Linked DNA regions of Homo sapiens: regions 1, 2 and 3 are each linked to region 4. The links are contacts of gene promoters, found by promoter capture Hi-C in human tissues and cell types (Jung and others, 2019). All regions are on one chromosome and are shown on one strand. The core of a region is centred on a gene start or on the middle of the fragment in contact, and the rest is flanking DNA. Distances in the headings are between cores, read along the strand shown. Region 1 overlaps ZNF341 (zinc finger protein 341). Region 2 overlaps ZNF341 (zinc finger protein 341). Region 3 overlaps ZNF341-AS1 (ZNF341 antisense RNA 1). Region 4 holds the start of CDK5RAP1 (CDK5RAP1 mitochondrial tRNA methylthiotransferase).

Region 1 (2,871 bases), core at 60-2,559, 340 kb before region 4:
AACTCACAGTCAAGCAGTGAGAAAAATGACTGTGTTTTTTTTTTTTTTTTTTTTTTTTTTTTGAGACGGAGTCTCGCTCTGTCGCCCAGGCTGGAGTGCAGTGGCGGGACCTCGGCTCACTGCAAGCTCCGCCTCCCGGGTCCACGCCATTCTCCTGCCTCAGCCTCCCAAGTAGCTGGGACTACAGGCGCCCGCCACTACGCCCGGCTAATTTTTTGTATTTTTAGTAGAGACGGGGTTTCACCGTTTTAGCCGGGATGGTCTCGATCTCCTGACCTCGTGATCCGCCCGCCTCGGCCTCCCAAAGTGCTGGGATTACAGGCGTGAGCCACCGCGCCCGGCCAAAATGACTGTTTTATGCCAGAAGATGCCTGTTTCAGTCTATATGTCCTATGGGTCTGGGGTGAATGCTTTCATAGTGATGGCAGAAATGACACCTATACAATGAATGAAGATAATGTTCTAAAGGGATAAGGAAAGAAAAGGAAGCCAGTTGAAAATCTGACCCCTTGACCTGGCATCCTGAGATATGCCCAGCCTCCTTTATGAGGGATCCTTTAGTCTTTCTATGAGCCCCCTATCCAGGGTGTCTTTGCTCCAGAACCGTGTTTTCGGCTGAGGACTCTGGAAGCTTCCCCAGATGCCTCCAGCCTTGTCCTCTGCTCTGGCCTCCGGACTTGGAAATCTACATTGTCTACTTTGTCACTGCCTCCGTTTAAAGGTTGGCAGGCATCTCAACTTCAACGTGCCCAGCTGAACTCCTGACATCCCCCCAAAACCTTCTCCTCACAGCCTCCTCCCTTCAGCTAGTGGCAACTCTAAATCAGGAGTCCTCTGTGACCCTTCTTGATCTCACACTCCTCACCCAATCAATTCACAAGTTCTATCAGCAACACCTTCAAAGTATTTCTAAAATCTCACACTTTCTCACCACCTCCACTGCCAACATGCTGGTCAAGCTACCCGCATCCACTGCCTGGATTTGCACTACAGTCCCTCAACGGGTCTCCTGGCTTTCTCTCTCACCCTCCCTCAAAACCTATTCTCTGTCCAGCAGCCAGAGTGACCTGATAAAAGTCACTATGTCCCTCCTCTGCTTGACAGCCTCCAATGGCTCCCATGTCATTCTCAGTAAAAGCCCCAGCGGCTGGGTGTGGTGGCTCACACTTGTTATCCTGGCACTTTGGGCGGCCGAGGCGGGGAGATCACAAGGTCAGGAGATCGAGAATATCTTGGCCAACATGGTGAAACCCCATCTCTACTAAAAATACAAAAATCAGCTGGGCGTGGTGGTGCGCGCCTGTAGTCCCAGCTACTCTGGAGGCTGAGGCAGGAGAATCACTTGAACCCAGGAGGCGGAGGTTGCAGTGAGCCGAGATCCTGCCACTGCACTCCATCCTGGGCAACAAGAGTGAAACTCCGTCTCAAAAAAAAAAAAAAAAAAAAAAGGCCGGGCGCGGTGGCTCACGCCTGTAATCCCAGCACTTTGGGAGGCCGAGGCGGGCAGATCACGAGGTCAGGAGATTGAGACCATCCTGGCTAACATGGTGAAACCCCGTCTCTACTAAAAATACAAAAATCAGCCTGGTGTGGTGGCGGGCACCTGTAGTCCCAGCTACTTGGGAGGCTGAGGCAGGAGAATGGCGTGAACCCAGGAGGCGGAGCTTGCGGTGAGCCGAGATGGCGCCACTGCACTCCAGCCTGGGCAACAGAGCAAGACTCCGTCTCAAAAAAAAAAAAAAAAAAAGGCCCAGACCCTACACGATCTGCCAAGACCCTCCTGCTGCCTCTCCTAGCACCTCCCACCTTCCTACTTACTCAGTCCCAGCCACTCTCACCTCCTTATAGTTCTGGAACAAACCCAGCACACTCCTGCCTCAAGGCCTCTGCATCTGCTGATCCCTGCACCTGGCTCCTGCTTCCTTCCCCAAACCAGCCGCATAACTCATTCCCACACCTCCTTAGGTCTATCTGGTATGTTCTTCCTACTTATTTAAGTAACTGCGGAAATTATATAGTACTATTGTTTCAGATTTTAAAAATAATAATATATTATCTACTTATTATTCTACAATTTGATTTTTCATACAAAACCTTTTACCTGCTATATAGTATTCTTCCTGGTCACCTCTTCACAGAGCTCTTCCCCAAGCACGATAGACAATATGGCAAAACCTCCCATCCCCGTCTGGCATCCCCTATCTCTCCGCATTTAACATGCTGAAAACAGTACATGTGCACCATCCATCTCGCCCCACTCCACAAGGGCAGGGACTTGGTCTGTCTTATCCATTGCTATAGCCCCAGTGCCCAGCACAGTGCCTGAGCATGTTAGGCCCTCAAAAAAGACATGTTGAATGAATAAATGAACAAATACCTGGCGATTGGCAGGAGTTGGGGCCTGCTGGACCGCTGTGGGTGCTGCCGAAGGTGGGTAGATGCTGTTGGTGGCCAGTGAGACTGTGGCCAGGGCGGGGGCATTCCCCTGGCACTGTTCCCGCTTGTGGGTCATAAACGCTGGCAGCGAGTTGAATTGCTTCTTACACTTCCCGCAGAGAAATACATCCTCGTCATCTGGGGTCATACCCGCAGAGTAGTGGGAAGAGGCCACAGATGAAGGTAAAGTAATGAAAAAAAAGCAAGACTATGTCAAGGGGCATCACAGTATGAGACAGGAGAACTGCAGCTGACCACAAGCAGCAATCTGGGGGGCATGCTGCGACTTGACATGCAGGTGTCAGCCATCAACTATGTGCTTCCTGGGAGTTTTCGAAGCCACACAGGTGGCCAGGCACAGTGGCTCATGCCTGTAATCCCAGCACTTTGCGAGGCCTTGGAGGGTGGATCACCTGAGGTCAGGAGTTCAAGATC
Region 2 (2,921 bases), core at 128-2,627, 370 kb before region 4:
AGCTCACTGCAACCTGTACCTCCCGGGCTAAAGCAATTCTTCTGCCTCAGCCTCCTGAGCAGCTGAGACCACAGGCATATGCTACCATACCCACCTCTTTTTTTTTTTTTTTTTTTTTTTGGTAAAGACGGGGTTTTGCCACGTAGTCCAGGTTGGTCTCAAACTTCTGGGCTCAAGCAATCTGTCTACCTCAGCCTCCCAAAGTGCTGGGATTACAGGCATGAGCCACCGCACAGAGCCCAACTTCCTGATTTTGGTAACTATAGTATATTGCCCTTATGGAAGAGGTTATCCTTGTTTTTAGGAAATACAGGCCAGGTGTGATGGCTTACGCCTGTAATCCCAGCACTTTGGGAAGGCCAGGCAGGAGGATCACTTGAGGCCAGGAGTTCAAGACCAGCCTGGGCAACACAGTAAGACCCTGTCTCTACAAACAAACAAACAAACAAATTTACCTAGGAGTGATGGCGCCTGCCTGTAGTCCTAGCTACTGGGGAGGCTGAGGCAAGGCGACCACACCTGTGAATAGCTGATGCACTCTAGACTGGACAACACAGTGAGACTCTGTCTCTAAAAAAATAAAAATTGGCCAGGTGTGTGGCTCACGCCTATAATCCCAGACCTTTGGGAGAACAAGGCAGGTGGACCGCTTGAGCCCAGGAGTTCCAGACCAGTCTGGTCAACATGGTGAAATTCCATCTTTATAAAAAATAAAAAATTAGCCAGGCCTGGTGGCACACACCTGTGGTCCCAGCTACTCAGGAGGCTGAGCTGGAGGATTGCTTGAGCCCCGGAGGCGAAGGCTGCAGTGAGCTGTGATCATGCTACTGTGCTCTAGCCTGGGTGACAGAGTGAGATCCTGTCTCAAAAAAAAAAAAAGGCCAGGTGCAGTGGCTCATGCCTGTAATCCCAGCACTTTGGGAGGCCAAGGTAGGAGGATCACTTGAGCCCAGGAATTTGAGACAAGCCTGAGCAATATGGCGAAACCCTGTTTCTACAAAAAGTTTAAAAAAAAAAATCAGATGGGCATGGTGGTGCATGCTTGTAGTCCCAGCTACCCAGGAGGCTGAGGTGGGAGAATCACCTGAGACTGGGGAGGTCAAGGGTCAAGGCTGCAGTGAGCCATGATCATGCCACTGCTTTCCAGCCTTGGTGATGGAGTGAGACCCTGTCTCTAAACAAAAAATTAATTAATTAATTATATTAAAATTAAAATACATACATAAGTTAAATTCATGAAACAAAGGAAAGCTTTAAAACACATATATTGAAGGCCAGGCATGGTGGCTTATGCCTGTAATCCTAGTACTTTGGGAGGCTGAGGAGGGTGGATTGCTTGAGCCTTGGAGTTCTAGGCCAGCCTGGGCAATATAGCAAGACCCTGTCTCTACAAAAAATACCAAAATTAGCTGGCAGTGGTGGCACACACCTGTAGTCCCAGCTACTCAGGAGGCTGAGGGGGATGGATTGTTTGAGCCAGGGAAGTCAAGGCTACAGCAAGCCATGATTGTGCCACTGTACTCCAGCCTGGGTGACTGAGCAAGATCCTGTCTCAAAAATCAATCAATCAATAATAAAATTATGACAAAATAAGAGGTTTACAAAGAACACTTTTCGAACATGATTGCCCGTGATATGGGGAAGTGGGTCACAGTGGATGGAGAATTCCTGTTCACTCTATGTCCTGTGATAGTTTTACAATATTGCACTGTATACATATAGTTTTTGAAGTAGATAATTAATCTTTAAAAAAAAAAAAAAAAGGCCGGGCACGGTGGCTCACACCTGTAATCCTAGCACTTTGGGAGGCCGAGGTGGGTAGATCACGAGGTCAGGGATCGAGACCATCCTGGCTAACATGGTGAAACCCCGTCTCTACTAAAAATACAAAAAATTAGCGGGGCATGGTGGCAGGTGCCTTGTAGTCGCAGCTACTAGAAAGGCTGAGGCAGGAGAATCACTTGAACCTGGGAGGCGAAGGTTGTAGTGAGCTGAGATCCTGCCATTGCACTCCAGCCTGGGCAACAGAGCGAGACTCCATCTCAAAAAAAAAAAAAAACAAAACCCTTTCAACTCTGACCTGCAAAATCACTTCTAGGAACTTAGAAAAGAGCAAAGATGTACTTCCGAAGTTGTTCCCTGTATAATTGTTATACTGATGACAAACTGAAAATAACCTCACTAACCAACAATGGGAGATGACAGAAGTAAATCACAGTACACCATGCACAATGGAATACAAAGTAGCTGTTTAAAGAATGAGGCAGGTCTATTGTTGCTGAAATGCAAAGATGTCCATATTACTGATGTTTTTGTTTTTCCCCGAGACAGGGTCTCACGAGTGCAGTGGCATGATCACGGCTCACTGCAGCCTTGAACTCCTGGACTCAAGCAATCCAGCTCAGCCTCCCAAGTAACTGGGACTACAGGCACATGCCACCATGCCTGGCTAATTTTTGTATTTTTTGTACAGGCAAGGTTTCATCATGTTGCTCAGGCTGGTTTTGAACTCCTGGCCTCAAGTGATCTGCCTGCCTCGGCCTCCCACAGTGCTAGGATTACAGGCATAAGCCACCATGCCCAGCTATATTACTGTTTTAAGTGAAAAAGTTTTAAGTGATAAAACCACATGTGCAGTGATCCCATTAAATCAGTCTGTTTGTTGGACATTGCGCTACAGGAAGACAGTGTGATGAATTTTCACCAAATTCAGTGACTCTATTTGGCATCACCTGACTCAAATATAGTCTGTGATATTTATATCTGTATCCATATCTGTAAACATATTTATTACACATATATGCCAAAGGATATCCACCAAGAGGTTAATAGTGCAGTGGCGATCTCTGGGTGACAGTTTTGGTTTTTTGTTTTTGTGTGGGTTTTTACAAAATTGTTTTCTCTGCATTGAACATTGACTT
Region 3 (2,874 bases), core at 255-2,754, 400 kb before region 4:
GAGACCAGCCTGGGCGACATAGGGACACTCAGTCTCAAGAAATAATTAAAAATTACCTGGGCATGGTGGCACACACCTATGGTCCCAGTTATTCGAGAGGCTGAGGCAGGAGGATCACTTGAGCCCAGGAGGTTGAGGCTGCAGTGAGCTGTGAACATGCAACTGCCCTCCAGCCTGAGTGACAGAGTGAGACACTGTCTCAAAAAAAGAAAAAAAAGTGCTCAAGATGGATTTGTGATGTCTACCCAGGGTATGGGATGGGAAGTGGTGACACATGGGCAAAGTAGCTGCCATCCTGGCTGAGAATTCAGCTGCCATAAATAGAGATTCACAGAGTGGACTGGCTCAATACTGGAGAGCCCTGGGCTTTGCTGGCCTGTATTTTTCTGGTCTCTCAGACAAATGCACAGCCTTTTCAAACTTTGACCAACTCGTATTAACTTATTCAAAACTGTGTGAAAAAGAATGAGCCACTGATACATGCAAGAATTTGGATGACTCACAGATATTATGCTGAGTGAAAGAAACCAGATACAAAAGCTTGTATGACTCCATATATACGAAGCTCAAAAACAGGCAAAACTAATCCATGGTGTTAGGAATCAGAATAATGGTTACCTCCAGGGAGGTACAGACCAGGAAGAGGACCCTTACAAGGTGCTAACAGGTTCAATAGCAGGATCCAGAGGTGTTCACATGGCTGTATACAAATTAATCAGTTTTTATACTTAAGACGATTGCCCTTTATGTATCTTATGTACTTTATTAAACATGTTATATTACAATTTAAAACAACATCTCCAGGCTGGGCATGGTGGCTCATGCCTGTAATCCTAGCACTTTGAGAGGCCGAGGTGGATGGATCACTTGAGCTCAGGAGTTCGAGACCAGCCTGGCCAACATGGTGAAACCCCAAGTCTACTTAAAAAATGCGAAAATGAGCCAAGCATGGTGGTGCACACCTGTAATCCCAGCCACTCAGGAGGCTGAGGCAGGAGAATCACTTGAACCCAGGAAGTGGAGGTTGCAGTGAGCCGAGATCATGCCACTGCACTCCAGCCGGGGCGACATAGCAAGACTCCATCTCAAAAATAAGTAAATAAGTAAATAAATAAATAAATAAATAAATAACATCTCTAGCTGGGCATGGCAGCTCATGCCTGTAATCTCAGCACTTTGGGAAACCAAGGTGGGAGGATTGCTTGAGGCCACAGTTCAACACCATCCTGGGCAACATAGTGAGATCTCTTCTCTAGAAAAAAATTTAAAAATTAGCCAGGCATGGTGGTGCAAGCCTGTAGTCTGGGCTACTTGGGAAGCTGAGGTGGAAAAATTGCTTGGGCCCAGGAGTTCAAAGCTACAGTGAGCTATGATGACGCCAATGCACTCCAGCCTGGGCAACAGAGGGAGACCCTGTCTCAAAAAAGAAACGAACAACAACAACAAAAATACACACACAAAGTATCTCTAATAAGAGCAGCAACAGAAGAATAGTTTTTATTTGCAAAGTGCCTTTGCACACAAAAATCCCATCTTATCTCCATCATCCCTCTAAGCCCCATGAAGTAAGCATTACTATCCACCTCCATTTTACAGTTGAGGAAACTGAGGCCCAAAGAAGTAGGAATTGACTAAAGTCACATGGTTAAAGATACCCAGCCATATATTTGTAACCTTCTTTGAAAACATTAATTATGAAATGAGGCCGGGCACGGTGGCTCACGCCTGTAATCCCAGCACTTTGGGAGGCCGAGATGGGCGGATCACCTGACGACAGGAGTTTGAGACCAGCCTCAACATGGAGAAACCCCATCTCTACTAAAAATACAAAATTAGCCAGGCGTGGTGGTGCATGCCTGTAATCCCAGCTACTCGGGAGGCTGAGGCAGGAGAATTGCTTGAACCTGGGAGGCGGAGGTTGCGGTGAGCCGAGATCACACCATCACACTCCAGTCTGGGCAACAAGAGTGAAACTCTGTCCCAAAAAATCAAAAAAATTATGAAATAAAACCTTAATTATGAAACTTGGTCTCACATAATTATACCAAATTAAATACAGAGGACTTCGCTGATTTTTAGTTGTAAAAAAGAGTTCATCCAACATTCTCTCCTGATTAAACAAAAAACAAACAAACAAAAAAACAAAACCTGAAACACTCAGCCAACTAGGAAGAGGAGAGAACTTCTCAACCTGGTAAAAGGCATCTGTGCAAAACCCACAGCTAACATCACACTTAATGGTGAAGACAAAGGCCGAAAGCTTTCCCCCTAAGATCAGGAATAAGATAAGGATGCCTACTCTCATCACTTCCAATCAACATTGTACTGAAAGTTCTTGCCAGGGCAATTAAGCAAGAAAAATAAATAAAAGGCATCCAGATTGGAAAAGCAGAGGTAAAACTATTTCTATTTGTAGATGACATGATCTCATATAGAGAAAAACCTAAAGAATACACAGAAAGCTATTAGAACTAAAATGAGTTCAGCAAAGTTCAACAATATCAACACACAAAAATCAGTTGTATTTCTGTACATTAGCAACGAGCAATATGAAAATGATATTAAGAATCATTTCCATTTACAATAGCATCAAAAATAATAAAACATTTAGCAATAAATTTAACCACGGAAAGGAAAGGCTTGTCCTCTGAAAAGTACCAAACCTTGTTGAAAGAAATCAAGGAAGACATAAATAAATGGAAACACATTCCATGTCCATGGATTAGAAGACTTAATTGTTAAGACAGCAACACTCTCCAAATTGCTCAACAGATTCAATACAAGTCTTTCAAAATCTGAGCTGCATTTTTTGCAGAAATGGACAAGTTTATCCCACACCTCATATGGAATCGCAAGAGACCCTGAATAGTCAAA
Region 4 (2,949 bases), core at 185-2,684:
GCTCAAGCAATCCTCCCTGCCTCAGCCTTCTGAGTAGCTGGGACCACAGGTACCCACCACCATGCCGGGGTAATTTTTGTGTTTTTTGTAGAGATGGGGTTTTATCATGTTGCTCAGGCTAGTCTAGAACTCCTGGGCTCAAGCAATCTGCCCATCTTGGCCTCCCAAAGTGCTGGGATTACAGATGTGAGCCACCACGCCCGGCCTGCCACGGAGAGTTTTCAGGAGAGGGGTGATATAATTTGATTTAATAAAACAAACACAAATTCCCTTAGGCTATGTGTGGGAAACTGTTCTCAGGAGACAAGGTGACCATTAGCAGGCTACTGTGATTGTTTCTGATGAGACAATGGTGGCCTGGGTAGTTGTAGCTACCGAGTAGACAGATTTGACATTTTGGAGTTAGAGTTGACAGGGCTTACTGACAGATAGAATGTGGGGATCCAGGGAGGTGAAGAAAATGACCATTCAGTTCCTCCTAGTGCACCTGGAAGGATGGTTGGGCCATTTACTGAGATGGGCCAGAATGACAGGTACAGGTTTTTGGTGAAGGTGCATGTGTGGAAATGAAGAGTTCTGTATAAGTTAGAGATGGTCATCAGACACTCAAGAAGGGGTGTCAAGTAGGCAGCTGAGCTATGGCTCTGGTACTGCAGGGAGGGTCCAGCTGGAGATGTGAATCAGGAAGTCATTAACCTACAGGGCAGCACCCTCCAATAGAAATAGAGCGTGAACCTCTTAGGTGACTTAAAATTTCCCAGTAAGGACCGGACACGGTGGCTCATGCCTACAATCCCAGCACTTTGGGAGGCCAAGGTGGGAGGATGGCTTGCGCCTAGGTAGGAGTTTGAGACCAGCCTGGGCAACATGGGGAGACCGGTCTCTACAAAAAAATTAAAAAAATTTTAGCTGGGCGTGGTGGCGCCTGCCTGTAGTCCCAGCCACTTGGGAGTGTGAGGTGGGAGGATTGCTTTAGCATGGGAGGCGGAAGCTGCAGTGAGCCATGATCACACCATATTATTTTTCCCCCTGCTAGCCACATTGAAAAAGTAAAAAGAAACAACAGGTGAACTTAATTCAAATATTTCTACCACCATAGCTACAAATAAAAAAAACTAATTCAACAAATGTACTTATTTAATCCAATATATCCCAACAATTATTGCAGCACATAATCAATATAAACATTATATATATGAACTATTTGACACTATTTGACATTTCTTCTTCCACATCCAGTGTATCTGACATTTAGCGCACATTTGATTTGCACTCACCCACTTTGAGGAGCTCAATTGCCGCTTAAGTCCGTGGCTAGTGGCTGCCCTAAAGTTCAGCACCGCCACGGAGCTTTGGGTCCACCCGGACTGTAAAAAGGAAGCACTTCCGTTAGCATGACCCGGCCTGAAGTAGCGGCGGAACGGAAGTCGCTTGTGTATGAACGCAGCGGCGGACCTGTGAGGGGATCCGACTTGCCGGCAGAACTTACGCTGCGGGACCCCGGGCACTGTTGCTGCTGCGGGAGGTGAGCAGCGCGGCCGCCGGGGTGGGCTGCGCACCCGCTTTTGACTGGCGCCTGGGGCAGGAGGGGCCGCGGATCCCGGGAAGCGCACGGTGTTCAAGAGGGAGGATGGCACGGTGGTTATGGCGTGGGGCCTGGCGTCAGGCTGTAGGGGTTCGTACCCTAACCCCGCCGCCTAACCCCGTGTGACCTTGGACAGGTCACCTCCACTTCTTTCAAGGCTTCGCTTCGCCACCCGTGAAGTGGGGTTGACAGTACAGCCTGCCTCACAGGGTTGCTATGAGGGTTATAGGTAATAATTCGCGGAAAATGCTTTGCACCATGCCTAACGCATTGTAACCAGCCAATAAAATGTTTGGGATGTTGTACGCTGTTGTTCCAGCCTCATTGCCGACTGTCAGAATTAATTTCGAGCCTCCAGAGAGGCTTCTACATTGCGTTATGCAAAGCATTTTGCTTGTATTATTGCATTTGATCCTACGGTAGGCTTATGGAGATAGGTGCTATTATCCCCATCTAGAGGCTCCCAGAGTTTAAGACAGGTGCCTAAGGTTTAGCTGGCTTGGCAGCAGTGGGGTCAGATTCTGACTCCAGGGTCCATACTTTTTTTTTCTTGAGACGGGAGTCTTGCTCTGTCGCCCAGGCTGGAGTGCAGTGACGCGATCTCGGCTCACTGTAGCCCCTGCCCCGCGAGTTCCAGCGATTCTCCTGCCTCAGCCTCCTGGGTAGCTAGGATTACAGGCGCATACCACCACACCCGGCTAAGTTTTGTATTTTTAGTGGAGTTCATACTCTTAACCAGGATGCTCTAATACTCTCTGTGAAAGGGGGTGTGGGCTGTAAATGTGCAGTTAGTGAACGCTTACTGTATCTCAAGTTGGGTTTTTAATATCTTATTCTTAATAACACTTATGGGGTGGTAGGTGCTGCTTTTATCCTTATTTTACACATGTGGAATTGGCGGCTCAGAGACAGAAATTTGTCTTGCCAAAGGTCACACAGCAATTATGGAGTAGAAAGGGGCGATTTTAAAGTTCACACTTTAAGGCTGTTCTTCTCTGACTCTTGAAACTGGGTTGGCATTGCTCCTAAGTGCTAGTAGCAGATGTGGCAGGTCATCTCATTGGAAAGGTAATGGGCCACATCTGCTCTTTACACGTGTATAGCAGGGTTCCCCTAACCCTAGGTGGTAGAATGGTACCTGTCTGTGGCCTGTGAGGAACCGGGTTGCACAGCAGGAGGTGAGCAGCAAAGCTGGCATTACTGCCTGAGCTCTGCCTCCCGTCAGATTGGCCACGGAATTAGTTTCTCAGGAACACAAACCCTATTGTGAACTGCGTATATGCAAGGCATCTAGTTTGTGCATTCCATTTCCTTTTTTTTGAGACAAGTTCTCTCTCTCTCTGTTGCCCAGGCTGGAGTGTGGT

Evidence for each region. The method cuts DNA at HindIII sites, captures the fragments that hold promoters and counts their contacts. A contact is called where the count stands out against the background at its distance.
Region 1: a fragment that was not itself captured here is called in contact with the fragment with the promoter of CDK5RAP1 in region 4 in 1 of the 25 tissues and cell types used here (aorta).
Region 2: a contact is called between a fragment that was not itself captured here and the fragment with the promoter of CDK5RAP1 in region 4, in 2 of the 25 tissues and cell types used here (IMR-90 fibroblasts and neural progenitor cells).
Region 3: a fragment that was not itself captured here is called in contact with the fragment with the promoter of CDK5RAP1 in region 4 in 2 of the 25 tissues and cell types used here (dorsolateral prefrontal cortex and thymus).

What each region holds. Positions count from the first base shown.
Region 1 is chr20:33,744,806-33,747,676 of GRCh38, reverse strand. It overlaps ZNF341 (zinc finger protein 341), which reads right to left. Exons shown (of 15, transcript NM_001282933.2): 3 at 2,378-2,574. Among named protein-coding and RNA genes, the nearest start is that of ZNF341, 14 kb to the right of the region's middle. The HindIII fragment of the contact is 8,876 bases long and covers 1-2,871 here.
Region 2 is chr20:33,774,351-33,777,271 of GRCh38, reverse strand. All of the region lies in intron 10 of ZNF341 (zinc finger protein 341), which reads right to left. Among named protein-coding and RNA genes, the nearest start is that of ZNF341-AS1, 35 kb to the left of the region's middle. The HindIII fragment of the contact is 6,435 bases long and covers 1-2,921 here.
Region 3 is chr20:33,801,659-33,804,532 of GRCh38, reverse strand. All of the region lies in intron 1 of ZNF341-AS1 (ZNF341 antisense RNA 1), which reads left to right. Among named protein-coding and RNA genes, the nearest start is that of ZNF341-AS1, 8.0 kb to the left of the region's middle. The HindIII fragment of the contact is 4,512 bases long and covers 1-2,874 here.
Region 4 is chr20:33,400,004-33,402,952 of GRCh38, reverse strand. It overlaps CDK5RAP1 (CDK5RAP1 mitochondrial tRNA methylthiotransferase), which reads left to right and starts at 1,434. Exons shown (of 14, transcript NM_016408.4): 1 at 1,434-1,525. It overlaps LOC124904889 (a long non-coding RNA gene), which reads right to left and starts at 1,371. Exons shown (of 2, transcript XR_007067567.1): 1 at 1,278-1,371. RefSeq lists enhancers at 1,294-1,493, 1,634-1,723. The HindIII fragment of the contact is 17,720 bases long and covers 1-2,949 here.